Regions from separate parts of the Homo sapiens genome. Here region 1 is linked to region 2. The links are contacts of gene promoters, found by promoter capture Hi-C in blood cells and fetal thymus (Javierre and others, 2016). All regions are on one chromosome and are shown on one strand. The core of a region is centred on a gene start or on the middle of the fragment in contact, and the rest is flanking DNA. Distances in the headings are between cores, read along the strand shown. Region 1 overlaps SLC25A24 (solute carrier family 25 member 24). Region 2 holds the start of PRPF38B (pre-mRNA processing factor 38B).

Evidence for each region. Contacts are between HindIII fragments. The CHiCAGO score rates a contact against its expected background, and 5 or more counts as called.
Region 1: a fragment that was not itself captured here is called in contact with the fragment with the promoter of PRPF38B in region 2 in 2 of 17 cell types (M1 macrophages and M2 macrophages); the score reaches 5.5 in M1 macrophages.

The regions. Positions count from the first base shown.
Region 1 is chr1:108,179,882-108,184,892 of GRCh38, forward strand. It overlaps SLC25A24 (solute carrier family 25 member 24), which reads right to left. Exons shown (of 10, transcript NM_013386.5): 3 at 2,060-2,147. Among named protein-coding and RNA genes, the nearest start is that of SLC25A24, 18 kb to the right of the region's middle. The HindIII fragment of the contact is 1,252 bases long and covers 985-2,236 here.
Region 2 is chr1:108,690,659-108,695,538 of GRCh38, forward strand. PRPF38B (pre-mRNA processing factor 38B) reads left to right here and starts at 1,652. Exons shown (of 6, transcript NM_018061.4): 1 at 1,652-2,209. The coding sequence starts at 1,934. RefSeq lists enhancers at 1,304-1,493, 1,431-1,991, 1,574-1,903, 2,554-3,114. The HindIII fragment of the contact is 12,264 bases long and covers 1-4,363 here.

The DNA of each region.
Region 1 (5,011 bases), core at 361-2,860, 510 kb before region 2:
CATTAAGTATGAGATGTATCATGTTAATTAGCTAGACTTAGTCACTCCACAATGTACATATACTTCAAAACATCATGTTGTACATGATAAATACATGTAATTCTGTCAATTTAAAAATAAATAAATGTTTTAAGTCACTGAATTGTATACTTTAGAAAAGTGAATTTATGGCATGTGAATTACATCTCAGTAAAGCTGCTGGCTAGGTGCGGTGGCTCACTTCTGTAATCCCAGCACTTTGGGAGGCCAAGATGGGTGGATCACCTGATGTCAGGAGTTCGAGACAAGCCTGACCAATATGGTGCAAACCCGTCTCTAGTAAAAATAAAAAAAAATAGCCAGGCGTGGTGGCGCGTGCCTATAGTCCCAACTACTCAGGAGGCTGAGGCAGGAGAATTGCTTGAACCTGGGAGGCGGAGGTTGCAGTGAGCTGAGATCGCACCATTGCACTCCAGCCTGGGCAACAGAGCTAGACTCCATCTCAAAAAAAAAAAAAAGTTACCATAAAATATTTATATTAAAAATTGTGTAGCTACTTTTAAATATCCAACCCTCTGCATTATCCTTTGCTATGGACTGAGCTGTGTCCCTCCCAAATCCAAATGTTGAGGCCCTAACCCACCGTGTGATTATATCTGGAGATAGCATCTTTAGGGGGTAAAGTCAAATAAAGTCATAAGAATGGAACCCTGATCCAACAGGACTATGGCCTTATAATAGAAAGCAAGAGAAAGATCTCTCTCTCTCTCTCTCTCTCTCTCTCTCTCTCTCTCTCTCTCTCTCTCTGCCATATGACAATACAGTGAGAAGGGGTCTATCTGCAAGCCAGAAAGAGAGCCCTCACTACAACCCAACCATGCTGGCACTCTCATCTTAAACTTCCAGCTCCCAGACCTGTGAAAAACTAAATTTCCATTGTTTAATGCATCCAGCCTATGGTATTTTGTCATGGCAGCTAAGCTAATACTTCTTAGTCTATTCTGAAGCTTGGGCTTAGAATTTGCATTATTCCTAAAGCTATCAAAGAAAATATAGGAATATGATTTCTGGCCTAACAGCCAGGGAAAAGCCCTCACTTTCCTATAAGAATATTACTTTAGAAGCAGAATATTATATGCTCTATATCTCACTGTCCAAATTCTGTTTATCTTCTTTTCATGTTTTAGGTTTTCATTTCCTCAGGAAAGCCCTTCTCATCTAGTACTAACAAAAGTCATTACGTGCTCAGCCTTGAGACTTTGAGCCTTCCTCTTGAGCAGCTGTTTGTAAAAGAAATTATGAAGAGAGAGAAAGGATGAAAATGCTATTGGCACAGATATAAAATGAGATAAATTCAATAACAAAGCCATTTAGAAAGATTTTTAGACAATGTGAGGACTGAAAATATTCACAACAATATTAATACAATATAATTGTCCTTTCTGTTTTACGTTATCATAAAAAATCAGTTCCTGCCCTGTGTTTATAGCAACAGAGTATTTGAGAGCACCTGGGCTGCAGAGATTACTGCTCTATCCCATGAAACAAAACATTAAGAGTATAAAAGTCTGACTTAAATAGTCAAACTGATTGCCCCAGACAATAAGGTTCAAATTTGCATTTCTGTTTTCTGAAAGTTTAAACAGGTATTTCTTTGTTAGCTTGGAGAGCTTAGTAATTTCCCTTTTTTCCAGTCACATCTAGGTTAAATAATGTGATGAATCTGCTAGTCTTCTTAGTTTGAATCAATGAGTTTTACTGTCACATTAGAAATCAAATGGAGAAAAAGCAACACCAAAACTCTTCAGCTCCTCATCTATGGAGTTAAAACCTTACTTCCTGCCATTCCACTATCCTTTGAGGCCTTGAAAGAAAGAGTCCAGTCTGAGCTTACACTTCCCATTCTTACACTTTAGATAAATGTACACATACAAAATGAATGGGAGGAAAAAAGACAAAAAGATCTTGGATATACATAATGAAGACTAGGGAGGTGTTTTAAAGCCACACTTACAAACACAGAGTTCTAATGCAGAATATTAAAGTGAAAGTCAATTGTTGACCAACATGAAGAGCTTACCTTTGAAGAATCAACTCTGCTTGTTGTTCAGAAATAGTCAGACCCAGTGTCTGGAGAGACTGGACAATTTCTGAAGCCTCAATTTTTCCTTTAAAAAAATAAAAAGGGCAAAAAATAAAACTCAGAACTGGTAAGAACCACAGAAATTATGAATTTCAAATCTCTCATTTAAGAGAAAGCTTTAAACTGATTAAGGCAAAATTGTGCATGTAGGTGAGTTATAGACTTGCTTAAATGCCTATCCCAACATCAATACTAAAAATGTAACAAATACATTAAAAAATAAATACACATTTTTTAAAATTCAGTAATTGTAACAGCCTTATAGATAAATAATATTCCTCCAAAGAGACTGACTTCACAAGTGGCCTTACCAAGTAATGTAATTAAGAAGTAGCAGAACTAAAATCCAAATCAAGATATTCTAACTCCAAGATAAATTCAATTAAAGTAGGATCTATTCATTTTAAAAGTACCTATTTCTACATTTTTAATAAATTACTAGACATTTACTATGCAAAACATCATATATGACTGAGTTAAAGAGAAGTAGTAAATGAGGAAATAGAGCTAAAGCACAGACTATTCTTTTAAAAATCTGGCAGTAAAAGGCCAGGCACAGTGACTCACACCTGCAATCCCAGCACTTTTGGAGGCTGAGGCGGGTGGTTCACCTGAGGTCAGCAGTTAGAGAGCAGTGTGGCCAACATGGTGAAACCCCGTCTCTACTAAAAATAGAAAAATCAGCCAGGCATGGTGGCAGGTGCCCATAATCCCAGCTACTTGGGAGGCTAAAAGAGGAAAATTGCTTGAAGCTGGGAGGCGGAGGTTGCAGTGAGCTGAGATCGCGCCACTGCACCCCAGCCTGGGTGACAGAGTGAGACTCCATCTCAAAAATAAATAAATAAAAATAAAAATCTGGCAGTAAAAATAAGGGAGCAAGGATAAAAGAACAACAAAAGACAGAAAATTTTTAATACTAGGGAAATTAGAGCGTGTTTGTGGACAGAAGGAGAACAATCAGAAGACAGGAAGAGAAAATAGAAAATAAAATAGAAGCAATAAATGTAAGCACTGCTGTATTTCCTTCTAGCAGCTCACAGGCTCATGAGAATCCTAAGACTACTGTACATGAAAAAGAATGAAACAAAACAAAGTAAGAGAGGGTCTGGTGCTGAAGCAGCATAAACAGCTGACTTCTCCAGAAAAAGAGGAAGACCAAAATTACTGTTAGTGGTGAAAGGATAGACTTTCTTGGAGAAAGGACCCTGGAGAGATGACAGGATTCTGAGAGAATCCTCCTGGGGAGAGGGAAGGAGCAGCATGAGAATCTGGACCATGTAAGGACAGTGAGAGGCAGCATCTGTTAGTAAAGAAATTATGCAAATACCCTTCTGAATATTCTCCTTTAGAAATGCACTCTTAAAGAGATATGGTTAATTCTCATTATTCACAGCAATCATCTTCCATAAAGTTCTATATTCATTGCAAACACTGAATTAGCAAATACCAAACCATTGTTCCTACAGGAAAAACAGGGTTAGGTTCCTGTGAGCCTCTGATTACAACACTTTCATCAACTGATTAATACATAACCATGTCTTATGTCTGTTTCTGTTTGAACGCACCTCATTTAATGTGTGCTGTTGATTCACTAACATTGAATTTGGGGCAAAGCTTATCAAACGCATATATTTTCTCCATAAGGCATGCTATGGCTTTCTTGCACTTAGGAACACTAGACAGCACTTCAGCACTACCTTTGGGGAACATTTTAAAAAGGAAATTACCAACAAAAATACAAAAATGCAAAAACTGGCACAAAACAGACCTTGAAAGGGATACTTGCTAGTTAATAGTATGAGAGCTGAAACAAGAAGGCAGAGTATTGCCTTATTCTACTAGCTAGGAATGTACATGCTGAGCAACTCAAGTTTTTCACTGCTCTGTGCATGTCCATGAATGCCTGGGAAAGTACTGTGAGTATATATTTTGGGGTTACTTTGGGGATAAATTTTATTGAGTAGGCAAATTTGCAAATACAGAATCCCCAAATAATGAGGATCAACTGTATATGTTTTGCATTAAGGAAGTCTAAAAAATAAAAATATGAACCAATAATGCCACATTGTTTTAAAATACACAAACATGGGAAATTAGGGAAACATTGTGTAGATTTCCTACAAATATACCATCAAAATTTCATCTTTAATTATTGCCTCTGGTTCATTTAGAATTTTATAAAATGAACAATTGATATGTACACTACTTATGCACTGGGATAATTGACCTCTGATTATCTGGCAATTGATCTTAAGGTAGCTCCATCTCTCAGCTACTGCCTGCCATAGCAGCACACAGACAATCTGACCTGCAAGACAATCTGAACTGCAGAGGGTCGATGTTGGAATGAAAGTTTGCAGAGAAGAAAGAAAACTGAGTTTTGCTAGAAGACTGGACTAAGGCTAGACTTAGGGGCATATATTGTAAGGCTTATGGGCAACAAATGTTCCAATAGTACTACTTTCCAACCCAAACTCAGCTCTTCCTGGCTGAGAGTCACAGATGTGAATAATCTTCAAAATCATCTAGAGTTTAGTTTGTTTGTTTGAAGGAACTTGCTTTGAATTAAACTTTAATATTCATTGTAAATCAGGGGATGGCAAACTATAACCCTCAAGCCAAATAAGGTGTATTAACTATCTTTGTAAATAAAGTTTTATTGGAAATCAGTCATCCCCATTCATTTACATATTATCCATGGCTGCTTTTGAGGTACAGCAGCAGAGACAAGTAGCTACAACTGAGACCACATGACCCACAAAGCTAAAATATTTATTATCTGGACTTCTGGACAAAAAAGTTTGCTGATCTCAGACATGAACCACATTTCCTCTCAATCTATTTGTTTAACCTGTTTCTTTAATAACAAGTCTGTAAATGAAATGACCT
Region 2 (4,880 bases), core at 402-2,901:
AGAAAATGCAAACTAGTCTCTACTGACAGAAAGTGGTTGCTTCGGTATGAGGTTGGAAAGAGAGATGGATTACAAAGGGCACAAGAAAACTTTTGGGATTGACAGAAGATTATGTTTATTGTAGTAGTGGTTTAATGGGTATACATATATGTCAAAACTGATCAAACCAAACTTACGGCTTTATATATGTGCAGCGTAGAGGTCTTCAATTATAACTGAATAAAGTTTTCTAAAAAATGGGGATAAAAATAACATCTTCAGCCTGTTGTAGGGATTCACTGAATATGTTAAAGCACTTTATCATAATACCTGGCTCCGAGTTTGATGCCGCTGACACTTAGATATCAAACTCAACCTCTCTACCAAGCTCTTCATCCAAACAGACTAGGGGTAAAGACTGTCTAAGACTATACAGAAAGATCATGTATCTGAGGAATTAAAAATAGGGCATAAGATTTGGCAATGTGTCACTCGGCAAACTCAATAAACTAGTATTATCAAGGCAAAAAATATATACACAAAAAGAACTGGGTTAAAAAAAATTTTTTCTATGGACTTTTAACGTGATAACTCATGACACAGGGGTTAGGATCTTCAGTTTTCCTTTGGAAGTTAATAAAAACCACTATAGAGAAAAACAAGATTTGCTAGTAAGAAGGTGAAAACTGCTTCTCCTCTCAGGGTTCTAGTTCTCTTGCAACCTAAAACAAAGGAACCAGACAGGATATCCACTTTCGTACCGTACAGCTCCAAACACTAATCAATCACTCCATTCACTTATCTTTTCTATTTCCTTGTATTCTGTCAAACAACTGTCTCTTGGTTTAAATACTTTTCTGCTGGTCTTCGCTCTCTCTCTCTCCTCTTCTGGTTTATTTTCATCCAGATGTGGATTTTCCCCAAAGTTTCCATCTTATCCTTTTCTCCTCCTGTGTATGCGCCACTGAAGTCAAGATTGCCACATTCAAACTCCCCACACATTCACACACCCACTCCCAATATACAGTATCTCGCCCAATGTTTATCACTCCGGATACATTCCTAGAATCCAAAGATCTGGAGCAGGGAGAAAAAGAAAAGGCGCCTACCAGATGCCTGGAACAGTCTACTAGGCACTACAAGTACATTAGCTCTTTCAATGCTCACAACAGCCCAGCCAGATGTTATCTCAATCTTACGGATGAATAAATTTAAGACTTCTGGCTGGACACTAGAGGCTGGCGAAGTACGTGACCTTTGATCAGAATCTCCTGGAGGAGTGGGGTCCCTGACCATTGTACCTTCCAGAGAACCTTAAAACTGAGATCCCAGGAGACCCCTCTCGGATACTCTGCAGAAGTCAGAGTGACGATATTAGCAAGCACACCGCAGCCATGCGAACCCTTCCTGGCTCAGCTCCCGACAAAAGAAATCAAGCCCCCAGTCAAAATACAACAACAACGGATTAGGCCTACAACCCTCTCCCCCGGCCCCCAAATTCTCAGGAGAAATCCCCTAAGAGTCAGGTACGGAGGTCACTGCAGCGACTTCAGCGTGCAGAGAACGCGGGGACCTAGGAAGAGGACGCTCCAGCCCAACTGAGCGTCTCTGATTGGCCGCCAGCTCAGCTTGGAACGCTGGGGTGCGTGGCGTCATATCCGCCGGGCCCGCCATCTTGTTCCCAGGGGCAGTTGGCGGAAGAGATCGAGCTCCCTGGCTGCCGGCTCGCCTTCTGCGTGGAGTTCTCGCGGTCTGGGTTTCGCTGTCTGCTCTTGGCCCGGGGTCATTTTGTCGGCGTCGGGTGCCCTCTCTTGCCCAGCTGGGGCACAGCGAGGCGGCCCCTTCTCCCGACGACGTTCGATGGAGTAGGGTCCCAGACCGTTGTCCCGAAGAGCGAGATCGAGCTTGGCCCCCTCCCCCCCCTCCTTCCCTCCCTCCTTCCTTCCGCCGCAACATGGCTAACAACAGCCCCGCGCTGACAGGCAACTCGCAGCCGCAGCACCAGGCGGCTGCAGCTGCGGCTCAGCAACAGCAGCAGTGCGGCGGCGGCGGCGCTACCAAGCCGGCGGTCTCCGGCAAGCAGGGCAATGTGCTCCCGCTCTGGGGCAACGAGAAGACCATGAACCTCAACCCCATGATCCTGACCAACATCCTGTCGTCGCCTTACTTCAAAGTACAGCTCTACGAGCTCAAGACCTACCACGAGGTGGTGGACGAGATCTACTTTAAGGTACGAAGTGTGTAGGCCTTGGCTTTGGGGGTAAGTTCGGAAGAGGGGGTATGGAGGAAACGGGCGAAGGCGGCCCCCGAAATCTGAAGATTTGTGGGTGGGGGAAGGTGGTTCGGCGGAGGGGTGGCTGCGGCCTGTAGTGTGTCTGGGAGGGGTCGGACTGGGGCCGCCCTCTCGTTTCCATTTTAGATTTTTAGGGCCGGGAGAGCCCGCCACTATTGATCTCTCTCCTCCCCCAACCTCCTGCCCACCCCTGGGGGGAGTTGGGCAAGAGGGATGGGGGAGAGGAGGAAAGAGTAACAGAAGCCTTTCCAGTTTACAGCTTTAAAATTATTCCTTTTGACGTGGATCTGCTGAGCGCCAACTTGTTGGTGCTTCTCCCGCTCACCCCTGGCCAGGGCGTGTAATGACTTCAGTATTGGCCTCGTGTTGTTGGTACTCACTATCCGATCCAGGCAGGGAAATGGTCAGTGCGTGTGTGTCGGGTGGGGTGGGGGGATGAGGGTGGAGAGGTGCCATTTCAAGAGGTGTACAGAAGGCCTGGAAATTTTCCCAGCAGGAAGTCAGGAGTAAGAGGTCTCAGCCACCTGTGCATTGGGCTAATTTAGAATTATCTGGGCCCTGGGCTTCTGCGGCAGGGTCGGTGCTGGCTTGGCTGTGCTGGGGAGCTCACCTGGCGCCTCCTCACTGCACTCTTGTCTCAGTTCTTGTTTCGTTAGCAGGATTGACTCAGTCTTGCAGCGAGGCTCGGAGCAGCCCAGGGTCGCAGGTAGAGGTATGCACTATTAATCATGCTCAATCGCCATAAATGCATTTCCCTGGTTAAATGAACGACTAATTAGATTTTTGTGGGTTTTTTTGGCCATTGCTTTTGGTCCTTCACCAATTAGGTAGGCTTTTTCCACTTCCCTGCAAATTATGTAGTATAAAAAATACCTTCCAGGCCTCCGAAAGTTAATTTCTATTTTAAAGAATATTAATAATAGCCTTAGTGGTCTTTAAAAATTTTATCCGGAGCATCTAATACACAATCCATTTTTGTCTATATTCACTCTTAAAAACTTGACAGACCGCACAAAGTGTTTTCTATCATTTGAACGTATGTGTAGAGATGGTAACAAAAGGACATTCTCTTTTGTCTTGCCCACCTTTTCCCCCAGTTGAGTAATTAGGTTATTGAAGGATTTTGAGAGATTAGTTGCTTTTTATAGAAAACATCTCTTGAATACAGTTCAACTTTGGGTTGATAAAGTACACAAATAAATTTGGAATCCTCTTACGAGAGTAGGTCTGATTGTAATTCTATGAATTAGTTTTTTTAGCTTTTAAAAGGTAAGACCTTTTTAGCATGGATACAGTATGGTGAATAACATTTAATCCTTAGCTTTATTTATGCAGTAAACTTTAAACAGTTGAAAATTGGGTTCCTGCTCTTTCTGCGGCAGGTTCTGTTTTCTAACATAGGCAAAATGTTAATGTAATAGAGGAAAGTCTCGTTTTTAAGTTTCAAATGTGTTTTGAAACAAGATTCTACCAGGAATTGTTTTTAAATTCCGTTAAAAAACTAAAGACCCAGTTTTTTTACTAATATTAAGAAGACTTAAGACTTTCAGATCAAATACTCACTGAAATTTATAAGTTTCCAACTTTGTAATTTTATTTTGTATGCATCCAGCCCTGCCTTTGGCTAGCTTTTAAGGAATTGAAACATCTTTTACATGGCAATCTGTGGGGAAGAAAGGAAACGTTAAAGCACTGCAAAATAGTGTAGTGCTTAAACTTACATGCACGCTTTTCTATCTAAAGCCATTGTTCAGGACTACAAAATTTACCATGTGGGTGGAAATAGAATTTTAGAAATATGCAGTGAAAAAACAGGATTTTTTTTTATGTTTTTAAAAAAAAACAAAGATGGGTCTTCCCAAAAGACCTTTTTGGATTCTATTTTAGAGTTAATATTCTTTTGTTGTTGTTGCTGTTGTTGTTGCTATTTTTAGATAAGGACTAGTTTTTGTAAGATGTTCCTCTTAGCAAATATGATACTGTATCATCTTTGATGATACTTAGTATATGCCAGTGACTATTCACACTCAGTTTTTGACACAATTTATATTCTGGGGAATAATTGGATTGGTTCACACATAATTAGGCTGAAGCTTAATTACAACAATGATCTCTGTAAGTGTGGCCTTTGTAATTTTATCTTTAATCAGGAATAAACCTGACCCTGGTGGAAAAAATGTACAAATAAAAAGTTCCATAATTTTGCATCACAAGTAACTCGTTACTGTTTTAGAAAATTTTCTTCAAGTAATTTTCCTTAATTTTATAATGTAGATTTTAAATTACAATAAAATTGAACTATTGAAGGTGTTTTGAAGTTTTTAAATTAATGCTTAACGTTAATACTTTTTGCTTTAAATTGGAGACTTAAATCCATTTTTAAAGGAAAATGTTAAGCAACCCATAAGTTAAATTGTCAAATATTATCAAAGTTAAAATATTACCAAATAGTTTTTGCAACCAAGTGAGACTATAGAAATTTTCTGACTCCCAGATGTAGATATCAGCTCTTTATAAAGCTAGTTGAGTGGGATTTCTCCTCTGCAAAGCTATTAAGGTTTTGTTAAACCCTAGTAGCTTTATGGGTGCTGTCTAAATGTCTAAGCAG